Linked DNA regions of Homo sapiens: region 2 is linked to region 1. Evidence: promoter capture Hi-C in 16 types of primary human blood cells and fetal thymus (Javierre and others, 2016). All regions are on one chromosome and are shown on one strand. Each heading gives the region's core, a stretch centred on a gene start or on the middle of the fragment in contact. The rest is flanking DNA. Distances are from core to core; before and after follow the strand shown.

The links. The method cuts DNA at HindIII sites, captures the fragments that hold promoters and counts their contacts. A CHiCAGO score of 5 or more calls a contact.
Region 2: a fragment that was not itself captured here is called in contact with the fragment with the promoter of TTI2 in region 1 in 1 of 17 cell types (activated CD4 T cells); the score reaches 6.1 in activated CD4 T cells.

What each region holds. Positions count from the first base shown.
Region 1 is chr8:33,508,096-33,514,542 of GRCh38, reverse strand. TTI2 (TELO2 interacting protein 2) reads left to right here and starts at 1,408. Exons shown (of 8, transcript NM_001102401.4): 1 at 1,408-1,461; 2 at 1,831-2,576; 3 at 4,611-4,797. The coding sequence starts at 1,930. It overlaps SNORD13 (small nucleolar RNA, C/D box 13), which reads right to left and starts at 1,068; the gene lies at 965-1,068. RefSeq lists a silencer at 757-806 and an enhancer at 1,237-1,376. The HindIII fragment of the contact is 19,476 bases long and covers 1-6,447 here.
Region 2 is chr8:38,894,391-38,900,826 of GRCh38, reverse strand. It overlaps LOC124901937 (a long non-coding RNA gene), which reads left to right. Exons shown (of 2, transcript XR_007060893.1): 2 at 131-1,577. Among named protein-coding and RNA genes, the nearest start is that of PLEKHA2, 3.7 kb to the left of the region's middle. RefSeq lists enhancers at 570-819, 880-1,069. The HindIII fragment of the contact is 2,100 bases long and covers 4,001-6,100 here.

The sequences.
Region 1 (6,447 bases), core at 159-2,658:
CACTGGTTCCTACACCCGCCGAGCCCGAGTCTGCAGCCTCCAGCTCCCCTGGCCCGTTCCGGGCGCCGCCTGCGACCCATGCCCAAGACAGCGCTCTGCTGTCCCTGCGCACCCGGCGCCGACACTGGCGGGGCGGGCCCAAGCCGGATCCGCCAACCCGACGACCCACCTCCCTCAGGGCTGCCCCAGACGCCAGCTGGGGGCTTCTACCTTGACGCTAGAATTTGAATTTTCAAACGCTTGTGGCTACAGGCTTTAAAACGCTAGCTCCAGAAACCAGCTAAAGTATTGCATTGAACAGAAAACCAAATACCGCATGCTCTCATTCATAAGTGGGAGCTAAACATTAGGAACACGTGGACATAAAAGTGGCAACAACAGACACTGTGGTCTACTAGAGGGGGCAATGAAAACGGGCTAAGCTGCACTCCAAATCCCAGCATCCCACAACATATCCAGGTAACAAACCTGCGCAGGTATCTCCCAAACCTAAAAAATTAAAGCCATTAAAAAGCTCTGCATTGGCCAGGCGCGGTGGCTCACGCCTGTAATCCCAGCCCTTTGGGAGGCCGAGGCGGGCGCATCACGAGGTCAAGAGATCGAGACCATCCTTGCCAATATTTATACAAAAATTAGCTGGGCGTGGTGGCGCGCGCCTATAGTCCCAGCTACTCGGGAGGCTGAGGTAGGACAATCTCTCGAAAACCGGAGGTGGGGGTTGCAGTGAGCCGAGATCGCAACACTGCAACTCCAGCCTGGCGACAACGCGAGACTCCGACTCACAAAAGAACAAACACAAAAACACATTACACAGTTGGACAACGGAAAAGCACCCGTGCGTGTAGCATACAGCCAGAAAAAAGGGCACCCGAAAACGGTAAACACAAAGCCATGAAACTAGGCCACCTGTTATCATAAGTAACAAGCCCACAAATACAAGTGTTAAATCGATCCTTGAAGTTCAGGTCAGACGGGTAATGTGCCCACGTCGTAACAAGGTTCAAGGGTGGCACATCTCACACAAGCGTATGAACACCCAATCATCACGCTCATGAACTACAAAAGGATCATCTTATAGTTGACATTAAGGAGTGCCAAGTATGTGCCACTAATTTACACATAGGGTGACTACCGTAATGCGATACATCCATTCTTCACGTATAAAATCCTGGATATTTTCAAAGTCCCACTGAGATTCTGTGATTATTCTTTTGTTTCTACCTTAGCAAAGGAAAACAGAAACACAATTAGCGAGCGGATTATTATATATGCAAATTTATTCTCTATAGTTCCACCTCTCCGTCATTTTCCCGAGCCTGGATCTTTATTGCTTTACGACCATACGTCGTGAAATAAGAAGGTGTTGCGGCAGTACTGGCGGAAGCTAGCCTTGCGTTTTGCGGCAGCAATATGAGCTAGGTCCGGATCCTGTTAGACACCGGCGGGCGCGAGCCGTTGCAGGTACCTGGGGGTGGTTAAGTTGGTGACATGGCTCAGAAGTTTATTTCTTTAAATTTTTAAGTTTTTTTTCTTTTTAGTCTTCAGAAAGGCAACAGTAGTCTTTTAACGTCACTGTTAAAAGTGTAAGACTCTTTTACTCCCTGAGAGTCCCCTTTCCCTTTCTTGCGTCCTTTCCTCTTTATTCTTTTTTTTTTTTTTTTTTTTACTGAGACGGAGTCTCACTCTGTCGCCCAGGCTGGAGTGCAGTGGCGCGATCTCGGCTCACTGCAAACTCCGCCTCCCGGGTTCACCCTTTCTCTTTATTCTTATCCCGGTCAGACTCGCCCCCTCCTCCAAGACATCTCTCTGTTTTATTTTATTTGATTTTAGTTCTCTTTGGGTGATCGCTCCTTCCCTCTTCAACGGATCCCTCCCCGCCTCCATCCTCGTTCTGTGGGAGAGACCAGCCTTCTGGTGCTGCAGTCAGGAATGGAGCTTGACAGCGCTCTGGAAGCCCCATCGCAGGAAGACTCTAATTTGTCCGAGGAGTTGTCTCACTCCGCCTTTGGACAGGCCTTCTCCAAGATTTTACACTGTCTTGCCCGCCCGGAGGCACGACGAGGCAATGTAAAAGATGCAGTTCTTAAAGACCTCGGTGATCTAATAGAAGCCACAGAATTTGATAGGTTATTTGAGGGGACTGGTGCACGGCTCCGCGGAATGCCGGAGACACTGGGGCAGGTAGCAAAAGCCCTGGAGAAGTATGCAGCCCCCTCCAAGGAGGAGGAAGGTGGAGGTGATGGGCACTCCGAAGCGGCCGAGAAAGCAGCCCAAGTTGGGTTACTGTTTCTTAAACTGTTAGGGAAAGTTGAGACTGCTAAGAATTCCCTGGTCGGCCCTGCATGGCAGACGGGCCTGCATCACTTGGCAGGACCCGTTTATATTTTTGCCATCACACACAGCTTGGAGCAACCATGGACCACTCCGAGATCTCGGGAAGTTGCTAGGGAGGTGCTCACCTCACTGCTTCAAGTTACTGAATGCGGTTCTGTGGCAGGATTCCTACATGGAGAAAATGAAGATGAGAAAGGGAGACTTTCGGTGATACTAGGGCTTCTCAAACCCGACTTGTATAAGTGAGTACTCCTGCCCTTTGCCACCGACTTGAGCCTCACAGTTTTTTATTTTTATTTTTTATTATTTATTTATTTTCGAGACAGAGTTTCACTCTTGTTGCCCAGGGTGGAGTGCAATGTTGCGATCTCAGCTCACTGCAACCTCCGCCTCCTGGGTTCAAGCGATTCTCCTGTGTCAGCCTTCGGAGTAGCTGGGATTACAGTTGCCCGTCACCACGCCTGGCTGATTTTTTGTATTTTTAGTAGAGACGGGGTTTCACCATGTTGGCCAGGCTGGTCTTGAACTCTTGACCTCAAGTGATCCACCCGCCTCGGGCTCCCAAAATGCTGGGATTACAGGCGTGAGCCACTGCGCCTGCCCTAGCTTAATTTTTTATAGCGTTATACCTCAAAGGAAGCTCAATTTCTTCAGCAGTAAAATAAGGGTGCTGTAACCACGGATCTCTTAAGGCCCAGAAACGTTGTGATTTGCTATAAATGACATAACTGGATAGTGGCAAATTGGAGGTCATAACTGAGATGTTCGGGCTCAGTTGTCCAATGCTCTTTCCAGCCCTTAGGACGACTGCCTAGGAAAATTGGAAATTCTGTCCCACTTACTTGGAGTTAATAATTACAAAATGTGGCCGGGCGAGGTGGCTCACTCCTGTAGTCCCAGCACTTTGGGAGGCCGAGGCGGGTGGATCACTTAAGGTCAGGAGTTCGAGACCAGCCTGGCCAACATTGTGAAACCCCATCTCTACTAAAAATACAAAAATTAGCTGGGCATGGTGGTGGACGCCTGTAATCCAAACTACTCGGGAGGCTGAGGCAGTAGAATCGCTTGAAACCAGGAGGCAGAGATTGCAGTGAGCTGAGATCGGGCCACTGCACTCCAATCTGGGCAACAGAGCAAGACATCGTCTCAAAAAAAATTACAAATTACTAGAATTTGGATGGGGGATTTAGAGAGGATTTAAACTTATGGTTTGAATTTAGACTTGGGGATCTTGAATCTCATTACTGCTTGTTAGAGAAGGATGACTATCAGCTAAGAAAGCCATGTTTAGGATAAAAAGTGAAAAGCACCTTTAGATTACTGTTAGCTGAAGTTCTTTCAATGAGTTTCCACTTGCTACTTTGTTAGCACTGGAGTAATGAGAGAAAAAGTATCTGTAACTGTCATTTTACCAGGAACACGGAATTAAAAGGCTTGATTTTGAGTTTCGTGCTTCTATTTGTTGCTCTGAGTAGGACCAGATTAGACAGTTATCTGAATCTGTTTGTTTCTAATATAAAGATAATATACTTGGCGGAGTGTGGTGGCTGACACCTGTAATCCCAGTACTTTGGGAGGCCAAGGCTGTCAGATCACTTGAGGCCAGGAATTCAGGACCAGCCTGGGCAACATGGTGAAACCCCGTCTCTACTACAAATATAAAAATTATCCGGGTATGGTGGTGCAAGTGTGTAATCCCATCTACTCGGGAGGCTGAAGCAGGAGAATCGCTTGAGCCTGGGAGGCGGAGGTTGCAGTGAACCCAGATGGTGCCACTGCACTCCAGCCTGGGCAATAGAGTGAGACTCTATTTCAAAATAAATATAATGTACCTATTACACAGTAATTATTTTGAGAATTAGTTAAGTCGTGTGTACACTCACTTTATTAGCGATTAACAGGTGTTCAAGTGTTGATTCATTTGTTTCCTTAGTGTAATACTACTAATCCATTTCCTTTACTCCTCCCTCCCTTCTCAACATACCTTCACCATCCATCACCATAAGTCCTTTATGTAGCTCTGGTTATAATTGACTCCTTCTCATTGGATAGGCTGTAGACCCAAAGCCCTGGATGATTATTTGGTGTAAGTTATGGAAGTTATTTTAATCCAGATCTTAGAATGTATGATATAGAATCAAGAGTTATCTTATGTGCGATGTATTTTTTTTTTCAAAGACATGAAAATACTCTGTTTAGCTTGAAGTAGTTTTTTTTTTTTTTTTTTTTGCTACTTATCACCATGTCACTTAATGTAATTCTATGTATTCACTTAGGGAATCCTGGAAGAATAACCCTGCCATCAAACATGTTTTCTCATGGACTCTGCAACAGGTCACTCGGCCCTGGCTGAGCCAGCATCTGGAAAGGGTACTTCCCGCATCATTGGTCATTTCAGATGACTATCAGACTGAGAACAAAATCCTGGGTGTACACTGTCTCCATCACATTGTGCTTAATGTGGTAAGCAACCTCTGGCTTGTCATCTGTGTTGACAGGACAGACTGAGTCATTCCTGGCTGTTCTTCATTTCTAGTAATGCTAAGTCATTCAACTTTACTTATTTGTATTTTCTCCTTATATTTTTCCTCTATCCACCTGGTAGAAGTTGTATCCTATAGGTAATGTAATAACTAAAATGATAATTATAGAAGAAACAGGAAGGCATGGGTCATTATCAAACTGAATAACCAGATGTTGAGAACTGGTCAACAGTTGATTTTCTTTCTTTCTTTTTTTTTTTTTTTTTTTTTGAGAGGGAGTCTCACTCTATCACCCAGGCTAGAGTGCAGTGGTGTGATCTTGTCCCACTGCAACCTCCACCTCTTAGGTTTAAGCAATTCTCCGCCTCTGCCTCCCGAGTAGCTGGGATTACAGGTGCGTGCCACCATGCCCAACTAATTTTTGTATTTTTAGTAGAGATGGGGTTTCACCATCTTGGCCAGGCCGGTCTTCAACTCCTGACCTTGTGATCCACCTGCCTCAGCCTCAGCCTCCCAAAGTGCTGGGATTACAGGCGTGAGCCACTGCACCTGGCCTACTTCCTTTCTTTCTTTCTTTTTTTTTTTTTTTTTTTGAGACATTATCACTCTGTCGCCTGGGCTGGAGTGTGATCTTGGCTCACTGCAGCCTCTGCCTCCCGGGTTCAAGTGATTCTCTTGCCTCAGCCTCCCTAGTAGCTGGGGATCCCTAGTAGCAGCCACCACACCCAGCTAATTTTTGTATTTTTAGTGGAAATGGGGTTTCACCATATTGGCCACGTCCGTCTCGAACTCCTGACCTCAGGTGATCTGCCTGTCTTGGGCTCCCATAGTGCTGGGATTATAGAGATGAGCCACCCCGCCCGGCCTACAGTTGAGTTTCAAGGACGAAAACAAAACAAACAAAATCAGAGCCTGAAAGGGACTATATCCAAATGTGGAAGCTATTACTCAAGGAAAAATTTTTTAAAAAAACTTTGTACTATGGAGCTTTTAAAATATACACAGAAGTAGAGAGAGTGGTATAATTAATCTCCATGTACCTGTAGGGGAGAGCCAGAGATCACCTCCAACCCTGCCCCCCTGCCCTTTTTTTTTTTTTTTTTTTTTTGAGGCAGAGTCTTGCTCTGTCGCTTACGCTGGAGGCTGGAGTGCAGTGGTGTGATCTTAGCTCACTGCAACCTCTGCCTCCCGGGTTCAAACGATTCTTGTGCGTCAGCCTCTAGAGTAGCTGGAATTACAGGAACGCACCACCATGCTCAGCTACTTTTTCTTTTTTTTAAATTTTTTGTAGAGGTAGGGTCTCACCATGTTGGCCAGGCTGGTCTTAAACTCCTGGCCTCAAGTGATCCACCAACCTCGGCCTCCTAAAGTGCTGGGATTGATTATAGGCGTGAGCCCGGCCTCAGCCCCCTTTTTATCTCTTAGTGGGCTCTTTTCCTGGATCTAGAAACCAAATTGACAACAGGCAGATTAGCAAGAGGAAACTATACACATTTTATTAGTTTTACGTGTACATGGGGATCTTCACAAGAGAGAGTATTCTGAAGAAGTGGCCAAAGCAATATGCTTTTATACTTTTTAGACTAAGAATGATAAATTTTTCGTCTTTTTTTTTTTTTTTTTTTTTTTT
Region 2 (6,436 bases), core at 3,801-6,300, 5.4 Mb before region 1:
GTTAGGGTCCCAAGAAGAGTGGCTTCTTCAGGTTGTCCTAAATGTGCCCTAAGAGACCAGTGGGCGGGAACGCTCTAACCAGGGTTATAAGGACTTTAATTTCTTTATTTTATTTTATTTTTTAATCAAGACAGGGTCTGGCTCTGTCGCCCAGGCTGGAGTGCGGTGGCGCAGTCATAGCTCACTGCAGCCTCGACCTCCTGGGTCCAGCGATCCTTCTGCCCCAGCCTCCCGAGTAGCTGGGACCACAGGCGCCTACACCGTGCCCGTTGGGACTTTTTCGGTGTGATGCGAAGACTCCCTTCCTGCCCCCAGAGCATGAGGGTGCTCTGGGAAAAAATGGGAAACAGACAAGCATGTGTTACTACGTAAACCTCGCCAAGAGGAACTAAGAGAGCTGCTGTGCGCGGGTCCCGCCCCTGCGCTATCTCATTTGATCCACGCCGCAACCTATGGGTACCAGTCCGGTTCACGGTGAGGAAACCGAGACTCAGACTTGTGAAGTAATTTGCCCTGGGTACCCAGTTAGTAAACGGCAGGTCTGTCAGGTTCTGACTCCGGCCTCCCACGTCGGGAGAGAGACATTTGAATATGCATCAAGTCAGGTGGACAACATCCGAAACATGAAAATGTAGAAGATTCGCGCGGGCCTGCGGGGCCGTGCGCCGGTGTCTGGCGATCCTAATGCAAACGTTGTTAATCAGGTGTAAATCCTACGAGGCTTTGAAAGAGGCAGGCATAAGAAGACGCTGAGGTTCTCCAGGACAAGGACTGGATTTGCAGGAAGGAGGGAGAGGCTGGGGCACATTCCCGGTGTTAACAGAGGAAAGGCGGCCTCTTATGTCTCCACGACCGACCGGAGGCCACAAGGCCTGGGGAGGGGGGCTCGGGCCGATGAGCCAGGACCGAGGGAGAAGGACAGCCCGCCCCACACACCCCGAAAGCACCAGTGATGAAACCACACAAGTTTCCTCTTCCATTTTGATTGCCAAAGCAAAAATGAACACCGCCGGTGTCTCAGGTGTGAAAAAAGACTGTTTGCTTTAGAGCATTTTGCTTTCAATGAGGAAGAAAAGGGGGACGATGGGCAAAACACACACACACACACACACACACACACACACACACACACACACACACATTTCCCTTGAAATAAATACATCAATGTCTTTTTTTTCCCCGTTCATGGAGGGTTTTGCCACTCATCTGTAAGTTTCAGGCACCAGAACAAACTGAAGAGCATCTCCTCTGGAAGCAAGGAACCTGGATTTGAAGCCCAGCTCTGCCGTTTACTGGCTTTGACCCCTGGGCAAGTTACTTAACTTCTCAATGCCTCTGTTAGGAAAAGTCAGTGAGTTAACATTTGTGAAGTGTTGAGATTCCTGTCGAACGTGAAGTAGGTGCTACGTAAATGTTTTTTAAATTTAAAAATTAGATGATCATTTTCAGTATGAAAAGCAACACAATTCCATCCAGCTCCAAGCAAATCCGACTGGAACTGAGGGTTTCCAGCATGAGCAATGAGGTAAATTTCTCAGATTTCAGGGTATGGTTCATATTAAACTCATAAAACTCTACTCCCCGTGGGGCTGCCTGAGTCACTCCATCACAGAGCCACAAGTATTTCCTGAGCACTACTGTTTTGGATGCTGGGAGGCAAAGAGAAGCAGAAGGCCTTGGGTGGCAAGAGAATACAGGTGTCTCTAGAAGGCTGAAGCAGGCTTGTGCCCTGGGAATGGCACAGAGAGTAAGTGCTGTCAACTTTTAGAAGGACAAGATATAGCCAGGGGCAGTGGCTCACGACCTGTAATCCCAGCACTTTGGAAAACCAAGGCAGGAGGATCCCTTGAGTCCAGGAGTTCAAGACCAGCCTGGACAACTAGGGAAACTTCATCTCTACAAAAAATAAAAAATATTAAATTAGCCAGGTATGCACCTGTGGTCCCAGCTACTCTAAAGGTTGAAATGGGAGGGTCACTTGAACCCAGGATTTTGAGGCTGCAGTGAGCCATTATCATGCCACTGCATTCCAACCTGAGTGACAGAGTGAGAACCTGTCTCAGAAAAAAAATAAATAAAAAAGAGGGAAATGTGTCTCTGAATGGGGGATGGGGGGTGGGGGGGGACGGTGGGGGAGCTCAAGAAGGGAGTGGGCTTTGAAATGGGACTTAGATGGATACAGTTTGACACCAGTGGGAGGAGGCCAGGAACATGTTGGGCTGAGGGAAGGTCATCATCAGTGCACTCGGGGAGATGCTCATACTTCACTGGAGCCCCATTTACTGCTACACTTGTCCCTGGCCAGGACCTGGCCCCAGTTAGATGACAAATCCTGCACTAATGTCCACTCTCTTATTCCTGGATCTCCCAGGGCTTCCTCAGAGGGACCCCCACCCCCACCCTCCTCTCATGTCACCTTGAAGCAGGCGTCAAGTGAGTCTGTGCCCTGCTATGTTTTGCCATCCCTTTCTCTCTTTTTGGGGGGACACTTTTTTATTGTGATAAAGTATACATGACATAAATTTTACCATTTTAAAGTGTATATGTAGTGGCATTCGGTAAATTCACAATGTTGTACAACTCTCACCACTGTCTAGTTCCAACCGATTTTCATGGCTTCTAAAGTTGACGCCATACCTATTAAGCAGTCACCTCCCATTCTTCTCTTCTCCCAGCCCCTGGTCACCACTAACTTGCTTTCCATCCAGTCTACAGATTTGCCTATTTTTGATACTTCATATAAGTGGAATCATATATATGTGGCCTTCTGTGTCTAGCTGCTGTTGCTGCTTTTTTTTTTTTTTTTTTTTTTGAGACAGAGTCTCACTCTATTGCCCAAGCTAGAGTGCAGCAGCATGATCTTGGCTCACTGCAACCTCCGCCTCCCAGGTTCAAGCGATTCTCCTGCCTCAGCCTCCCGAGTAGCTAGGATTACAGGCCTGCGCCACCACACCCGGCTAATTTTTGTATTTTTAGTAGAGACAGAGTCTCACCACGTTGGCCAGGCTGGTATCGAACTCCTGACCTCAAGTGATCCATCCGCCTCCGCCTCCCAAAGTGCTGGGATTACAGGCGTGAGCCACCGCACCTGGCTGTGTCTAGCTTCTTATGTTTACTTTTGCCATCACTTCATTGACACATTTTGAAAGTACAGTATTGCTGTTGCCTAATTTTATACTTTAATTTTGTTCAGTGCAATAAACAGCCCTGATGTCTGAGAATGTGACTGTACCTGTGGGGAAAGGAATGTCAAAAAAGGACGTTTCATGTGAGCTATTTCAGCCCCCTTGTTGTACCAAGGTAAAATAAAGCTCAACAATTTGCTCAAGGTTTTGAAGCTATAATAGTTAGTGGCAGAGTTGGTTCTAGAACCCAGAGTTGACTACCTTAGAATCTTCTAGTATTGGTATAGAAACCTTGCCACCAAGATGAAAACTTCTGGCCTAGAACCTAAGAATCTCAACAGAAAACCTTATGCACTACTCTAAGCATTTATTTATGTACTTTCTATTCATTTTCAATGTTAATGGCTGGTTAGCTAGATAACCTAACAACCTCCAGTGGTGAGCCAGTGTACCCTGCAGGGAACTATTGTTCTGTCCTCATAGATACCCATTACATAAGGCTGCAGCTGGGGCCAGTTAGTTCTATTAGGGAAAGTGTGGGGCCAAAGAGGCCAAGGTCATTGGTTTGATTCTGGCTCAGGCCAGTTCATTTTGCACAGAGATGGATTGCTCCAGGGCTATACACTGCACCTCTAATGTTAGCCAGTCATTTTATAAATAGTTGCTATGGGTTTTGATAGCAAAGTATGAATAGTTCTGTACCATCCATTTCTAGAATGATTGCTCAAACTGCCATTGTTTTATTCAGTCCAATTCATTCAACAAACAATTATCTGAACCCATTACCATTTTTCCTTCTGTATGTCTTGCATTTACTTGTTTTCCAGGTACTTACTAATTGCTAATTGTTATGCATGTATTATCTCATTTAAGCTTTATAATGACAATGACCCTGCCATTATTTTATGGTGATGAGATGGCTAAGGCATACAGATAAAGCCCTGATACAAACCTGGACAGCCAGAGGCCAGAGCCTGGTCTTTTACCTACCAAGCTACACTGGTAGATGCAATGTTAGGCCTTGTGAAGGATGCAGAAAAGCATAAAACAAGACTCTTCCTTCCCACCGCTGACACTTCCTATATTTATCATCATTTAGAATCTCCATTCCATTTCACCTAGCAATTGCCTATCCAAAGAAAGTTATATGGATATATAGATAGCAATACATGCACACACATATGTATTTATATTCACTGCAGCATTGGTCATAATGGTAAAAATTGGAAATCACTTTCATGCGCATCAAGAAGGGATTGAACAGGTGCATCACTACAATCTTATGCTATGCTGCACTTAGAAAAGAATGAGGGCTGGGTGGGGTGGCTCATGCCTATAATTCCAGCAGTTTGAAAGGTCAAAGCAGGAGAATCACTTGAGCCCAGGAGTTCCAGACTAACATGGTCAACATGGCGAGATCTGTCTCTGGGAACGATTTTTAAAAATTAGCTGGACATGGTGGTGCACACCTGTAGCCCCAGCTACTCAGGAGGCTGAGGCAAGAGGATCACTTGAGCCCAGGAGTTCAAGGTTGCAGTGAACTATGATTCCATCACTACACTCCAGCCTGGGCAACAGAACCAGACGCTGTCTCAAAAAAAAAAAAAAAAAAAAAAAGAATGAGGTAGATATCTATATGAAAAATACTATACATTTTAAGTGAAAAAAGTACAGAGCTTTACATGTAGTATAATTCCATTTCTGTAAATAATTTTTTGCATGAAAAAGCTCTATAAGAATACATTCCAAACTGTTAACCACAGTTCTCTTAGGGCAGGGGTAGAGGGGTGATAATGGTGGATTTCACTTTCTAAGAGATGTATTCTGTGAGGGTTCTTTTTTTGCAACAAGCATGCATGCATTTGGTTTTTTTTTTAAAAAAAGAACAGGAATGGCTTAAATTTTTAATAAAATTTAAAAGTTCCATGAGGAAGAAAATAATATTGCAGCCTTCGAGGAGCTCATCTCTTACTAAGGAGGGAACATAGTATGTACAGAAACTGATACATGCAGAGGAGAGCAGAGATAAAATTCCCCGGGAAGATTATCAACCAGCTGTGGTTGAGAAGGGCAGGGGAAAATGCATGAAGGACATGGCCCCTTGCAAGGACCTTGAAAGAAAGGTTAAAATGTAGAAAAGTGAAGAGGAGGTGAGAATAGGTGGATTCCAGATACAGAGATGATCAGAGGCAAAGCACAGAGCAGGACCACATGGGATCTATTCAGGGAAGTGTGGCTGGTACAGTTGAGCTGGAGCACGGGAGGACATAGGAAGGATTTTCATGGGGAATGAAACAGGAAAGAAAGGTAGCTGGAGTGTCTTTATTGCTAAGCTAAGGAGTCTGTACTTATTATTAGGCTTCAAGAGCCACTGAAGGCTTTTGAGCAAGGAAGGGACACAGTTGGAAGTTAACTGGCTGTGATTTCGTAGTTACTGGCTGCCTAGTAACTAGACTCTGGCACCCAGCTACCTAGTTTTGACTCCTGACTCTGTCACTAATTAGCTGAATAGCCAGGGACCAGTGACTTCTCTGTGCTTCTATAAAATGGGGAAGGTGGTGATGACAGATAACTGTCTCATACCATGGCATTTGGGATTGAGTGAATTCATGCTTTTAGGAAACATGGTTAAGTGCTGACAATGCTAAATTTGAAAAATCAGTGTCATACCTTTGGATTTAAATCCTCGTATTTCATTTGAAACTTTTATCCCAAAGAGCTAACACTTCATGATAAATTATTAACTATTCTTTTTCCCCCACTCTCAGGGAATTAGAGATTTTTCATCTCATTTTACAGATGGAAGAATTTAGGTTTTAAGAGAGCAATAGCATCTCAGAATCACACAGCCAGTCATGATCTGAATCCCTGGGTTCTGAATGGTAGTTCAGTGACCTTTGCCCAATACTTAAGGTTGTCTCTTAGCTCAAATTCTCAGAGCCTTGAGAGTAGGAAAATGGGGAGTGGAAGAAGCTTAGGAAATTTCTGTTTATAGAGTAAGAGGAACAGCAGTAAAGGACAGTAATAAGGTAAAATCAAAAAAGAGAAAACTCTGGTGGAACATCTGGAAGTTTATAAAATCAGACTTGTAAAATATAAACAGGAGATATACATATAAATATATATACATACACACATATACATACATACTTACTGGTGCTAAAGTTATTTCCTAGTAAAAAAGTTTGGAAAGCATTGTTGTACTGCTAAGTCTAACACTAATAGTGTCATTTCTCAGCCTCAGAAATGAGTGTGCGTGCCGTCCCCAGAAATAACAGTCTCCTGGCCAAGAGCACCATTCCTATTGATTC